Linked DNA regions of Homo sapiens: region 2 is linked to region 1. Evidence: promoter capture Hi-C in human tissues and cell types (Jung and others, 2019). All regions are on one chromosome and are shown on one strand. Each heading gives the region's core, a stretch centred on a gene start or on the middle of the fragment in contact. The rest is flanking DNA. Distances are from core to core; before and after follow the strand shown. Region 1 holds the start of CLU (clusterin). Region 2 holds the start of PNOC (prepronociceptin).

Evidence for each region. The method cuts DNA at HindIII sites, captures the fragments that hold promoters and counts their contacts. A contact is called where the count stands out against the background at its distance.
Region 2: a contact is called between a fragment that was not itself captured here and the fragment with the promoter of CLU in region 1, in 1 of the 25 tissues and cell types used here (hippocampus).

Annotation. Positions count from the first base shown.
Region 1 is chr8:27,611,541-27,618,927 of GRCh38, forward strand. It overlaps CLU (clusterin), which reads right to left and starts at 3,160. Exons shown (of 9, transcript NM_001831.4): 1 at 3,115-3,160. RefSeq lists silencers at 1,573-1,758, 3,314-3,403 and enhancers at 2,792-3,291, 4,248-4,748, 5,039-5,795. The HindIII fragment of the contact is 13,101 bases long and covers 1-7,387 here.
Region 2 is chr8:28,316,809-28,324,195 of GRCh38, forward strand. It overlaps PNOC (prepronociceptin), which reads left to right and starts at 460. Exons shown (of 4, transcript NM_006228.5): 1 at 460-508. RefSeq lists enhancers at 1,453-1,965, 1,966-2,477. The HindIII fragment of the contact is 3,527 bases long and covers 2,286-5,812 here.

The DNA.
Region 1 (7,387 bases), core at 1,910-4,409:
CCCTCCCCCTGCACTCCACCCCCACCATGCCCCTCCCAAGAACTGCTTATCTGAGCTCACCCATTTGCCATCACAGAACCAACAGGACGATGGGGTTCCCCTTCCTGAAATGGTTCACATCCAAAGCCCGCTCAGCCCAGCAGGCCCATCTGGACACTCAGTAGCACATTAACAAGGAGTGCCTCTCATGAGAAGTAATCAGGCGCAAAGAGCCAGGGAGCAGCGTGGGAGAAGAGATGGGGTCAGCGCCTTCCCCAGAGATGGGGTAGGGGGCGGAGACCGGGCTCACCAGGAAGGCTGTGGTCTCACGGGCTCTGCCCCAGCTGCCCACTGAGCCCTGAAATGCCTCCAGCAGGAACAGAGCCTTTGTCATGCCAGAGAGACAAAGCCAGCCAGAAACACCTCTCTGCCAGGGGCCCCTGAAAGCAACAACTTCTGGAAAAACCCATTCAGAACTAGGTTCTGACCAGAAGACAGGGTGCTGGGCCATGAAGAATGGGGCAGCCAAAGGCAAGATACAGGAAAGGAATTCCAGACTCAGCAGCGGGCACAGAGTCTGCTCCAGGGAGCCTGGGGTCCCTGGTGAACCATCCAGCTCAGACCTGGGAAGGAGGTCGTTCTCTCACCCAACCTCTCTACCCTAGCGGTGAGGCTGAAGCCCAGAGAGGGCATGGGACTCCCTAGAGTCCACAGCATGCTCATGGTAACCCTGGGATGAGAGCCCAGCCCTCCCGACCCCTAGTCCAGTATTCTTTCCTTGATTCCAAGTCACTTAAATATCTGAGCCTCAGTTTCTTCATCTGTAAAATGGATCTAATCCAGACCTCAGAGAGGGGAATGTGTTCTGTAAACACGAGGGTCTTATGTAATCATAGTAAATTCTGACTACTTCCAAATTAGACTGAGGTCTGAGGCTGGGCATTGGCAGTGTCTAATCAACATGTCTGGAGAGGGGCAGGAAAACCGAGACAAGCACACAGAGGCCACCTGTGGTCCCCCGGACTGTGTGGCTCTGCTTTGCTGAAATGATTGACCACTTTTTAAAGTACTTATGAATCACTGCAGGGCTGGTTATAATGTTGGTTCTGAGACTGCTTTTCCAGCCAGTCTGCAGGTGATATGGATGCTGCTGATCCAAGGAATGTTCTAGAACCGTGACTGCACAGCCGACCTCCTTTCCTTTGCTCGGACTCACCTCCCCCCTCATCTCCTCTGCCTCCTGGGAGCCTGGCTGCCAGCTGCCCTGGGTGGAAGAGCCATGCCAAGGCCAAGGCCCTCGAGTCCCCAGCACTACCACACAGCCTCATTCTCCCTAAGAAGGCTTAAACCACTTGGCCTTGCTCCTTCTACCAGAAAAGGCCGGTTCTGTGGACAAAGGGGCTGCTCAGGGGAAGAGGAGGAGGAGAAGATGGCGGGGGGTGGGGGGCAGGGGGGGCGGGGGGAGCAGGCAGACTTTGGGAGCAACTCCCCTCCAGGCACACCCTCCTGGGAACTTTGAACTGAGCAGCTTCCCAAAACGTTTCCAAGCAGGGCAGGGCTGGAGGCTTAAGAAAATCAATGACCTGGCAGGGCGCATTGATTCACACCTGTCACCCCAGCACTTTGGGAGGCCAAGACAGGCGGATTACTTGAGATCAGGAGTTCGAGACCAGCCTGGCCAAGGTGGTGAAACCATGTCTCTACTAAAAATACAAAAATTAGCCGGATGTAGCAGCATGCGCCTGTAGTCCCAGCTACTCAGAGGCTGAGGCATGAGAACTGCTTGAACCCGGATGGCGGAGGTTGCAGTGAGCCGAGATGGCGCTACTCTACTCCAGCCTGGGCAACAGAGTGAGACTTGGTCTCAGGAAAAAAAAAAAAAAAGAGAGAAAAGAAAGAAAGAAAATCAATGACTGTGAACAGGGAGCCGTGGGGAGGATGGGAAGACAGTGAAGAGGGCACACAGATGGTGAGGGTTTCAATCCCAAAGCCCCGGCTCCTATCTGCTTCTTCAAATGGAGAAAACTAAACCAAAAGGAAAATAAGAAAAATAATCACCGGTAATTCATATCACCCAGAGGCAAAGGTTAGCACTGTGGTATATTTCCTTCTGTCTTCCATGCAGTTTATACAAGATTCTTCACATTCACCATCTTCAAATATTCTTTAAGGGCATACTTTTATGGCTATGTAATACTCCACTTACTCACGGACCTAAGTTTATTTTACCATTCTCACAAGATTGGCCATTTCAGTTGTGCCCAATGCTCCACTATTATTATAACTTAACATTTTCATGGGCATCTTTTTTTATATAGTATCTGTACTTTCCTTTAAATTCCTAACCTCTCCGTTTAAAAAATAATAATAAAAATCATATTTTTTTTAACTAGGTCCAGAAATTCTGGAAGGTCAAGAGGCTTTGGCTCGAATCCCAATTCTGATACTTATTTGCTGTTTAGTGTTGGCACCAGTCCTAAACCTCTCCAGGCCTCAGATTATCATCTGTAAAATGAGACTGTGGAATCAGAGGTCTGAGGCCTGGTGGATCTTGTGTGACTTTTCTCTGATGCACCTCAGATGCATTAGGAGGCAGAAAAAGTCGGATTTCGGTGGTTGCAGCATATACTGAAATCCGCAGCCTCATACTTACAGGCAACAGTGTCCAGAGAGCTAGAGAATTTAGAAGAAAACTAGATGACTCATGCATGCAAGCCGAAAGCCACAACTGAGAGATCCGCATCTTCGCAGAGGATATGCTGCAGGAAGGAGCTCGGTGCAGGCCAGCTCTGTCACCTGCTAGCCTGGGTCTCCCGCAACGCGGCAGGTCTCCAGGTCTCAGTTTCCCCATCTTTGCGAAAGGATGATCATTATATCTGTTCTATTTACCCCCCCACCACAGAATTGTGGTTGGAGCTCGTGCTCTCAGGCGGCGGTTGCGCCGGGGCCCCTGGCTCAGCTGCCTGGTGATGGGGCTCCGGCCACCTCCCCTCCCTGGCTTCCTGGGCTCCGTCGAAAGCGCAGGGGTTGTGACTGCGAGCTGTGTCATCCCTCTCTGCCTGGCTGCCATCCCCTGCCCGCCCATCCGTCCTGGTGTGGCTCTGCTCAAGGGTAGGGAAGACGGGGACATCTCACCGGTCAGCGGCACCCTGTGCCCGCGCGCTCCTCCTGGCGACGCCGCGTTGTGGGCACTGGGAGGCGCCGTATTTATAGCGCTCTGCTCGCGCACACACCCCCTTTGGGGCTGGCTGCAAACCTGCATGACTCACGCCCAAAGAATGCCGCGGAAAGCAAGGGGAGCTTTCTGGAAGCCGGGAGGTGGGGGCCGGTGCAGCACCGGGCTGGGGGCGCCGGGGGGCGCATCATCACCACGAATAGCTGTGCTGGCTCCAGGAGAGACCCTGAGGTGCGGCCGCTCGGCGCTTCCAGTAGGGAAGAGCCTGAACTCGCGTGCCCATCTGGGAGCCCCTCTCACGCGGTTAGCCCGGCTGTCTGTCCCAGTCCAAGACACAATCTCACAGTTCCCTGGCCCTACTGACCTTAACCTTCACATTACACAAGCGCCACTTCTCTTGACCCATTTAAATAGTAAAGAGTCAGACATAATGAGGGTGGGATGGAGAGGGGCCTTGTGCTGGAGAAGAGAGCACAGGAAGTATTGAAACGCCTACTCCTGGAAACATCACACTGATGGGGGTCCCTGGACTGACCCGCCAGGCCTGGAGGAAACAGAATTGTGTTTAGGAGTGATCAGAGCAGATATGTGGAGAGCCAGAAGGCCTCTCCGGGGTCCTTGATCCACAGAGCTTAAGCAATCACTGTCCCCATCTTTTTGGAACCCAACCAAGCAGGGTGGGCTTCATGGCTGTGGGACCCTTGCAGATCCACGTTTGGTTTAATGGGCTACTGTGACGGTCTTGAAATTCTTCATAGTTTTTGAACCAGTGGACCTGAATTTTTATTTTGCCCTGAGCCTTCCCAGTTAGGAAATCAGATCTGTGTCCAGAGGGGTTTGCTGGTCTCCAACTGCTGGAGTTCCTTCTGCTGAGAGCAGGGAGAATCTCCTGTCGCAGCCACCCCTCCCCCTGGCAAGGAGGGGCAAATCTAGGAACCCTGGAGGTGCAGCTACTTCTTGGGGAAGAAAGTGAGCTGCCCATTTTGGAGCCAGGGATGTTTAAGCCCCAGGAGAGAAGTCAAGGGGCTGACAGCTGGGGCAATGGGTGGACAGGGCGGGTACAGGCAGCCCCACTGTGGGTGGCAGACTTTGAAAACCATGTGAAACAAAGGGGCTTAAAGGAGAGCTGCGTGGTCAGGGGCTGAGTTTTCCAGTTCAGGATCAGGACTATGGAGGCACAACATGGAGGCCCAGTCCCTTGCTTGCCCAACGTCCAGGGGCCACTAGGACCCCAGTCCTTTTCAGGAGGCAGCCTCGGGGAATCTTCAAGGCCCATGACTAAGTGGGAGAACCCAGACCAGGTCCATGAAAGTCTGATTACAGTCCTAGGTGTGCCCCTAGACACTGGGTGACCTCGGACTAATCACTTTGCCCTTGGGCCTCAGTTTCTTCCATCTGGACGATGAGGAATCGGGAATGGATCATCTCCACGGCTCCCTGCAACCTAACCTAGAGCCAAGCCAAGTATTAGAAGGCCATTAACCCAGAAGAAGAAAAAAATGTCCCAGAAGAGGCTACACTTTATTTTTCTTAAAAAAAAAATGTCTAATTATCAGTAACAGCTACATTTTCTGTGGACAGTGCCTGCTCCTTATCAGTGCCTGCTCCTTATCAATACCTGAGGTTAGAAGAATTGTTTTTGAGCTCGCTCCTTGTAACTTTTCTGTTCTGTAGCTCCCTCAGCATCCGGAACAGAAGGCATAAATCTAGTTATATTTTTAAAAATTAGACTTTGGAGGTCAGTCAGTGAGATCCGCCTTAGCCAGCTGAATTAGGGGAAGGGAAGAGAGGAAGAAAGGACTTGGGAGAAAATAGCATGATTCACAGATTCACAGTCATGACTGTGATCCCTTGGGAATAATTACTTGATTATTCCCACTACTAAGCAAACAAGGTTCAGAAGGTCAAACTTTGAGGAAAGAAAAGTGTAAATTTTGAAAGCGCCATAAATGCATCACCAGATGTTTCATATTCTAAGCAGATCATAGACATTGATTGGTTCAGGACTCACACACTGCTTGATTCCTACCCCATCCCCAGCATCTGCACCCGGTGGTCATCCTGCCCATGTTTGAATGCCACCAATAACAGGGAGCTCACTACCTGCCATGCAACCATTTGTCTAGTAAAGCTGTTGATAAAGTTAGGGCCTTCTTTGGTTGAGTCACAGTCTGGCTCGTGTATGGGCCAATCCGGAGCCCAGTTCTGCCCTCTGGAGCCACACAGAGAAAATCCAGCCTATCTCTCCCATAGTGCCCCTTCTGATATTTGAAGGCAACGTAGTCTGCTTTTCCCAGTGACCTCCAGGCTTGCAGCTCCTTGCCTTGCCGTGGTTTGCAGACTTTTCCCCAGCCCTTTGACATTCTGGACCTCATCTCTCTTGAAACCCTTGGCCCAGCCCTGGACTAGCCAATGCCAGTGGGGAGCCTTGGACCAGCCAATGCCGGAGGGCCTGAGCACACAAAGCAGAACAGGACCACCCCTTCCCTTGCCCTAAACACTCCAAATAAGCTTTATCAGATGCTGAGTCACTGGGCTGATTCATAGAGAATGCATCATCTTCTTGGCAGGTGCTGCTGTTTGATCCTCTGTCTCCCATTATGGACTTACACAGCTGGGTTTGGGGCATTAGCTTGATTTATTTTCTTGGAGAGTCAGAGCCATGGGGAGGGCCAGGGAGGGATGAGTAAAGACCCTTGCATTTATCTGTTTATCTATGCTTTGTGCACCATCTCTGGCTGCCTGAATGTCTCTGGGGCTGCTTCGCTACGCAGTGTCCTTATTACACATCCCCAACCAGCCTTTGTCTGGCTCAGCACCACAAGCAGGACAGCTCAGCCAGCAGTCTGATACAGCTGGAACAAACTAGGAATGGGCAAGAGCAGTATCCTGTGGCCTGTGATTAAGAATCACTCTCAGATGGGCGTGGTGACTCACACCTGTAATCCTAGCACTTTGGGAGGCTGAGGTGGGAGGATCACTTGAGTCCAGGAGTTCAAGACCAGCCAGGGCAACATAGCAAGACCCAGTTTCTACAAAAATTAAAAAATTAGCCAAGCATGGTAGTGCATGCCCGCAATCTCAGCTACTCAGGAAGCTGAGATGGAGTATCGCTTGAGCCCAGGAGGTCAAGGCTGCAGTGAGCTACGATCGCACCACTGCACTCCAGCCTGGGCAATAAAGTGAGACCCTGTCTCTCAAAAATAAAAATGAAAAAAATAAGAGAATCACTCTCCAAGGGGAGCAGGGAGGGAGGATGGTGAGAGATTGGTCAACCAGTACACAGTTAAAGTCAGATGGGAGGGATAAGTTCTGGTATTCTATCGCATAGTAGAGTTTAACTTTTTTTTTAGGTCCCAGTATCTATTGCTCCCCTCTATGTGTCCATGTGTTCTCATCATTCAGCTCCCACTTATAAGTGAAAACATGCAGAATTTTGTTTTCTGTTCCTGTGTTACTTCACTTAGAATAATAGCCTCCAGCTCCATCCATGTTCCTGCAAAAGACATGATCTCGTTCTTTTTTATGGCTGCATAGTATTCCATGGTGTATACCGTAGTATTCCATGGTGTATATATACCATATTTTCCTTATCCAGTCTGCCACTGATGGGCATTTAGGTTGATTCCATGCCTCTGCTATTGAGAATAGTGCTGCAATGAACATATGAGTGCATGTGTCGTTATGGCAGAGCAATTTATATTCCTATATATACCCAGTAATGAGATTGCTGGGTGAAATGTTAATTCTGTTTTTAGCTCTTTCAGGAATCATCACACTGCTTTCCAAAATGGTTGAACTAATTTACACTCCCACCAACAGTGTATATAAGCCTTCCCTTTTATCCACAACCTCACCAGCACCTCTTATTTTTTGAATAATGTATATTTCAACATAGGTAGAAGAGAGAACTTACAATGTTCTCACCACAAAGAAATGTTTGAGATGGATTTGGTAATTACCCTAATTTGATCCTTACACAATGTGTGCACGTATCAAAACATCACATTGTACCCCACAAATATGTACCATTCTCGTGTCAGTTTTAATTTTTTTTAACTTAGTGAAAGGCTGGGTGCAGTGGCTCACGCCTATAATCCCAACACTTCAGGAGGCCGAGGTGGGGAGATCACTAGGTCAAGAGACCATCCTGGCCAACATGGTGAAACCCTGTCTCTACTAAAAATACAAAAATTAGCTGGGCATGGTGGCACGCGCCTGCAGTCCCAGCTA
Region 2 (7,387 bases), core at 2,799-5,298, 710 kb after region 1:
GCTCAGCCCTGGGCTCCTCCGAGTCGGTAGGAGCTTGGCATGAGCTCCCCTCCCTTCTGCCTGCCTCCTATTCTTCACTCCTCAGGCAAAAAGGTTGCTCAAGGAGACTCCAGGATTTGGGGTCTGCCTCGTCACTGTCACCAGGAGGCTTTTTTTCTGACTTGCCAGAGCTCCCCATCAGTCCTCACAGAGCCTCTGGAAGCACAGGGAAGGCAGCTGTGGGATCCTGGCTGAACAGAGTCCAGGTGAAGCAGGCTTGAGAATGGATTGATGGGGAGGTGGGGATGTCACAGGTCTGATGGCAGAGCCGGGGGAAGGGAACAGCCAGGAAGGCTTGCAGGTTCTGCTGTTTGGTTGCTGAAGGGGGTCAGTGTGTGTATGTGTCATGGAGGTGGGCAGGGAAGGGGAGGGCTGTGCGTGGGGGAGAGGATATATATGCTGGTGTGGCTGAGAAAGCGGAACCGAGCCTCGCATCCATCGGAGGGAGCCGGGGACTGACAGCTCTCAGGTAGGCAACTGCACGGGGCCCCCAGCCCGACCGCGACTAACTGGACTAACTGCGTGGAGCTCCGGGAGGGCAGGGCCACCAGGGGCTGGCTCCTCGGCCTCTCTCCTTTGTCCAGTGTGGATGCTGCTGGCCTCTTGCGAGATGGTTTCTTCATTCATCTCCTTTGTAGCGCTTGGATGGTGGGGAACGGGGGAGGGCTGAGTCTCTTTTTTAACCTCAGACAGACGCAGAAGCAGAAAGAGGGGAACTTGGAAATGAGGAAAAGTTTTGCTTCCCCAGCTGTGGCCCCTACGTGGTTGTTGCTCTGTGTCGAGAGGAGGCTGCTGGAGGAGTGAGGCCAGAGGAGGGGCAGGCACTTGGGAGGGGGTTTGCCTTCCACGGGGCGGCCCCCAGGAAGACCCTGGCCCCCTCATGAGGGTTTCCTCTCAGTGGCTTCCTTTCCTCTCAGATGCGGTGCGCAGGCTGCTTCTCCGCCTATCACTGAACTTGATGCCATCCAGATGGGAGTTTTTAATCCGGAGGGAGCCCTTCTCCCTTCTGCCCCCAGCAGAAATTGCTACAAATAATGGGGAAGCGCCAGATCTGGGGAGTGTGCTTCACCTGTATACACACACTGCTGAGCGCCACGGCGTGTGAATTCCAGAGAGCATTTCTACGGGCGTGACCTTGGTCTCCCAGAACCCGATTCATTTAGAGGGCTCTTCTCTTGCTTGGCATCCCTCTCCCCCTGCCCATCTCCCCCACCTAAAGGTCTTTGCCCAGGTCATGCAGAATACTCCGTTCATAGTCACCGCATCCCAACTCTCGAGGCTCTCTCAGCCACCTTCTTTCTTCCTCCTCTCTTTGTGCATCTCTCTCCCTCGAGTCTTGCTTCCCCGGCTTCACTACCCAGCCCCTCCTCCCCGAATCTCGCTCTGAACATGGGCAAGTTCTGGGGGAATTTCAAGTAAGGCAGGATGATTCGGGAAATGGACTATTTAAAGCAAGCTGCTTTGGACTTGAATACCCCCATCCTGCGCTTAAACATCTGTGTTTAGCTTCCTCAAGCAGCCCATAATTGCCCCAATTATAACCAATAACATTGTTCGGCAGACTAACAAAAGATGAGCTTTGCACGGCATTCGCCAGCAAGCCCAAACCAGAGTTTTCAACATAGATGGGAAAAGTAACTGCCTGGCTTCTTATCAAAACCTCCCAAAGCAAATACTGCTCTTTTTCGCTGCTTGTGGGTGGCTACTGCATGCAGCCTCTTTTTTTCTCATTTGTAAAGTGTGGCAGGGAAATATTCTACAAGCTTACACTGAGGCTATGTTACCTTTAACAAAAAGGATTCGTGCTCCTTTGGGCTTGCTGAGTCTTCTGCAGAGGAGGGTCCCTGGAAAACCCATCCCCAACCATCACCACCTCTGTAAAAGCATGTGCCGCCTGGTGCTGCCTGGCGAGGGCGCTGTGGTACAGCCTCGGGTCATTTTGAGGGCGCAGTTTTGTTGCGCACAGGGCAGCAGCCCCTGCTTTATCAGCTGAAGGCTGAGAGTACTTACGGATTTGTAAAATGCAGGCGAGTTTGCATTGTCAGTGAAGGGAGTGATTGCAGGATTAGGCTCAAACCTGTGCTCCCTGGAGCCTATGACAAGAGCTGTCACTAAGCTATCCTGTATTCAATCAATCAGGTAGTTACCGTCTACACTCCACCAGGCAGGGAGGCTTGCAGGGGCTCTAGTAGATTCAGCAGAGGTGATAATAACAGCACTTTACATTTGTACAACGATTTAGGCGCTTTCACACCTATTATCCCAGCAACAGCCCTGTGAGGTGGTGCCATTATCTCGGTGTTGCAGTTGGAGAAACTGAAACTGAGAGATTAAATGATTTATTCAGTACATGGCAGGGTCAGGACTGAGCCAAGGCATTGTGGCTCCAGTTCATCTCCCCGTTACGGTCAGGGGTGCTTATGAACTCATAGTGGGGTCGGGGGTAGAGGAGAGACGTAACACAAACATGAGAAACAATTAGAGGACCATGCAAGGCAGGGTGTAATTCAGTCCTAAATCACATAATCCAGAGAGCAAGTGCTAGAAGAATTCGGGAGAAGGAGCATTTCCTCCAGGCATTCCTGGGATCCTACCAAGTGAGAAGGCAGGTGGAATTTGGATGGGTGAAGGGCTTTGAAGAGGGAGGCAGCAGCCAGGTCAAACACATAAAATGAGGGCAAAGGAATTAACATTTCTTGAAACCCACTCTGTGCCAGGCAGTGAGCTAAGCTTGTCTACGTGCTTATTTCATGCTAATACACACATGCACATATGCACACTGGTAGGAATGGGAAGTTTCAGGTGAGCGTTCTCTACTTGCACTGACACGGTTCAGTGATCCCTCATTTCTCCATCCAGCTCCACAGCTCCCAAAGCCCACGAAGGAAGCTTTGAAATATCTTGCATTCCGAGTCTGGGTGGAGCTACTCCTCAGATATCTTAGGAAAGGGACGGGCCCTTCTCAGAAAACGGGAGCCGTCCTGACAATGAGTGGCTGGCAGTGGCTTGAATTGCTGGGCAGTCATGAAGCAAACTGGATTTTCTAAACGCCTTTATTTAAATCCCACAGTCGAACATAAAGTTTTCCATCTAATCACAAACTAGTCATGAGATTTGGAGCACATCGATTTCAGGGGCAAGCCAGTTTTCTGGGCATCTCCCTGGATAGGCTACAATTAGTTTCAGTCTCAATTTTCCACGATCCTGTGGGGTTTTTTTTGTTTGTTTCTTTCTTTCTTTCTTTCTTTTTTTTTTTTTTTTTTTTTTTTTTTTTCAAAATACTGGCAGCTGCTTCAACATTGCAGAAGCACAAAATCATCAGCCCGGGGGCCCAGCCTGGCAGGTGGAGTAGATAGCATGCCTCACCATGCACCCCAGCTCTGCCATCCCACAGTGGCTCAGATCCAACCTCCCCTCTTTCCACACTGGCCTGCAATCTTCCCCCCACCCTCCTTCCCCATTCATCCTTTCATTCATTCGGCCAAGGAACGTGTGTGGGGTTCCTGATAGGAGCCACACAGAGCAAGTGCCAGGAGCACAGGGTGGCCAGAGCGCTGGCTTCCTCCAAACTCACAATGGGCTTCAGGAGACTGAGACTTTTGTTTTTATCTTACCTTTCTTAATTTGCATTTTAGTGGATTTTATAATGTATGTAACTTATAAATAAATTAGGAATGTGTACTCAAAATCGACTGCTAGGGGTACAAAGTTAAAGAAGTTTGGCCGGGCGCAGTGGCTCATGCCTGTAATCCCAGCACTTTGGGAGGCCGAGGTGGGCAGATCACAAGGTCAGGAGATCAAGACCATCCCGGCTAACACGGTGAAACCCCGTCTCTACTAAAAATACAAAAAAATTCTCTGGGCGTGGCGGTGGGCGCCTGTAGTCCCAGCTACTCGGGAGGCTGAGGCAGGAGAATGGCGTGAACTCGGGAGGTGGAGGTTGCGGTGAGCCGAGATCACACCACTGCACTCCTGCCTGGGTGACAGAGCGAGACTCCATCTCAAAAAAAAAAAAAAAAAAGAAGAAGAAGTTTGAAGATTGTTGTCCTAGATTCATTGCTGTTTCTCTGTGTTTTCCAATATTTTAGAAAAGAACACCGAATGATTTTATTACATAAAAGTAAATAAAAGCTTTTCTTTCTTTCTTTTTGAGTTGGAGGTCTTGCTATATTGCCCAGGCAGGTCTTTTGTTGTTGTTGTTGTTGTTTACAGACAGGGTCTCACTCTGTCACCCACACTGGAGTGCAGTGGCACAATCATAGCTCACTGCAGACTCAACCTCCTGGGCCCAAGCTATCCTCCTGCCTCAACCTTCTGAATAGCTAAGACTGCAGATGTGCACCACCACACCTAGCTAAATTTTTTTTTTTTTTTTTTTTTGTAGAGATAGGTGTCTTACTATGTTCCCCAAGCTGGTCTCAAACTCCTGGGCTCAAGCGTCCTAAGTTGCTGGGATTGCAGTTGCATGCCAATACACCCAGCTAAAAGTAAATAAAAGCTTTCCAAAATCTATTTAAATTATGTTGCCAGTATATGTGGGAGTGTGGCCCAGAACCAGGAAGATGGGAGTTGAGAGCTACCTTCCCACCTGCAGTAGCCCTGAACGTGTGTCTTTTGCCCCCTCCACACTCTTTCTATGGCTTTCCTCATGCTGCCCGGAAGCTACTTCCCCATAAAGCCTTCATCTCCTTTTCCTCTTCCCTTCTTCCTTCCATCCTTACTTCCAGGAAAGGACAAATATCTGGCCATTCATAAAATCAGAGAATATCAACCATCTCATCTAACTGCCTCTTCTTATAGAGGGAAAAGCTGAGGCCCAGAGAGAAAAGGTCTTGCTTAAAATCCCACAGGTAACGACAGAGCCAGACTAGAAGCCAGGACTCTTGTTTCTGAGCACAGCTCTCACGCGTTCATTTCTCTCCAGCCTGGGGAATGCTTGACCTGTGCTGGGCTGGGCAATTGTTCTTTCCTCCACCTCCTCTATGCCGTCCCCCTCTTTCCAGGTGGAAATTTAGATGAGAGGAGAGACACTTGAAGTGTAATTGTATCAGCCAGAAGAGGAAAAGAAACTAAAGCAGCCTCTCTCCATAATAGCTGGTAAACAAGCATAAGCTCCATTGTAGGAGTCTTATCTGCAATGGGTCTAAGAAATGGGGCATCGGGAAGACCCACCTATCTTCTGATGGACATGCAGCTGGTGCATAATGAAGGATCCCTGTGTGGACTGGAGAGAAGCCACCATAAAGAGGTTGTCATCAGCCCCGGCACAGTGGCTCATGCCTGTAATCCCAGCACCTTAGGGAGGCTGAGGCGGGAGGATCATTCGAGGTCAGGAGTTTGAGACCAGACTGACCAACGTGGTGAAACCCCGTCTCTACTAAAAATACAAAAAAAATTAGCCAGGCATGGTGGCGGGCACCTGTAATCCCAGCTACTCAGGAGGCTGAGGCGGGAGAATCATTTGAACCCAGGAGGCAGAGTTTGCAGTAAGCCAAGATAGCGCCACTGAACTCCAGCCTGGGCAACAGAGCGAGACTCCATCTCCAAAAAATAAAAAATAAGAAGTAAATAAAAAAGGTTGTCATCAGACAGGGAGTACAGACTTCAGGACAAGAGGAAGCCCTACATGAAGACAGCTGCTGGGATCACTGACAGGCAGGGTCAGACATAAGTCCCAGCTCTGCCACTTCAAGTTACATCAGCTCCTCAAGCCTCAATCTGCTCAACTATAAAATGGGGATGATAGCACTTACCCCATAGGGTGATGCTTATAAAGCAATTAGCGCAAAGCCTGGCTCATAGTGCTCTAAAGTCATAGCAATATGATTGCTATGAAATGCAAATAGATTCCACCGCAATGAGATGCCATCAGAATCTGGCAATCTTCCAAAAGCAGAAACAGTGTGTAAAGTTGATGGTTTCCCAGAACACATGGTTTGAAGTCAACACACCTGAGTTTAAGTCCTGGCTCTGCTACTTATAAACCGGATGATCCTAGTCAACTTGCTTAACCTCTAAGAGTTTATGTTCATTTTAAAAGGTGGGTTGATATTAACCCTAGATTACAGGGTTGTATAATATATGAATATAAAATTTTTTGGTAACCTGTCAAGAATATTCTCTACATGTGGTTGATGAAAAGGATGGAGGTGTATCTGCCTCTAGCAAGAGCAGTCCCCTCTTCTCTGCTGGCAGCATCAAAATTACAGGACTTCGAATAGGTCATAAGACAAAACTCAATTAGGGTCCAGCTTCGGCTAAAGCTGCATATGTGATTCTCCAAACAGATAAGCAACTAATTATATTGCCCTTGGAAGCAAGATTACATGCAAATCGATTAAGGCCAAGCCATAGTGGTATTTTATCTTTATAAACAGCAAGGCACAATTAAATTTATGAGGTGTCATTACCAAAAGAAAAGGCAATTCAACATTTCTTTATTCAATATGAGACGCTCAGAATATAGTATTGCCACATAGAAGTATTAGCTGAGCTTGGCTCACGAAGTGAAATACAAGCCATGGAAAATTCAGCCTACTCAGGTAACTTTTGATTTACTGATGTTTGCTATGGTTGTATAAAAATAGCAACAACCTGTCACTATTCCCATTTCACAGTTGAGAAGACTGAGGCTCACAGAAGTGAAATAATTTGCACACAGTCCCACCGTTACAAAGTATAAAGTTTCAGCATCAATGTAACAACAAACCTGTTATTATCCCCACTTTGTAGTTGAAAGGACTGACCATCTCAGGACTTGTCTGCAGTCACACAGGTCCACAGTGTAAGGTTTAAACACAAATACAACTCGTGAATTAACTAAGTACTCATCTCCATTTAAATACAGAACATCATCCAGCATGGAGATATAGTCAAGACTTCTTACAAATGAAAAACATCTACTGAGTTTTCAAAGTTCAAAATCTGATTTAACCTAGAACACAGTTGTAGTAGGTGTTGGGAAGTGTATGAGAAAATACAGAATGCTGTCTCTATAACGATATTTACATAATTTTGAGTTTTCACTGACATTAATCTCATTTTAAAGCTTGCAAGCCACCTGTAGGGTGGATGGAACTATGTGGTCATCTCCATTTTGCAGATTCTGTGAATTGCAGGGGGGAATGGATAGCATTGAATATGGATGGCTCCTCAAATAATCAGTGGAGTCAATTGTTAAAAGTGAGGGGAGACAGAGAAGGGTCGGGAGGTTGGAGTCCGAAAGGTAGACGTGCCTCTGACCCACAGGGAGGTCCTGGCTAGAGCCAAGGACACTCAACAAGGTCTCCCTAAGTGCCAAGCTGCAGGGCCTCACATTTCACCTGCAGGAAGACTATCAAATGGAACA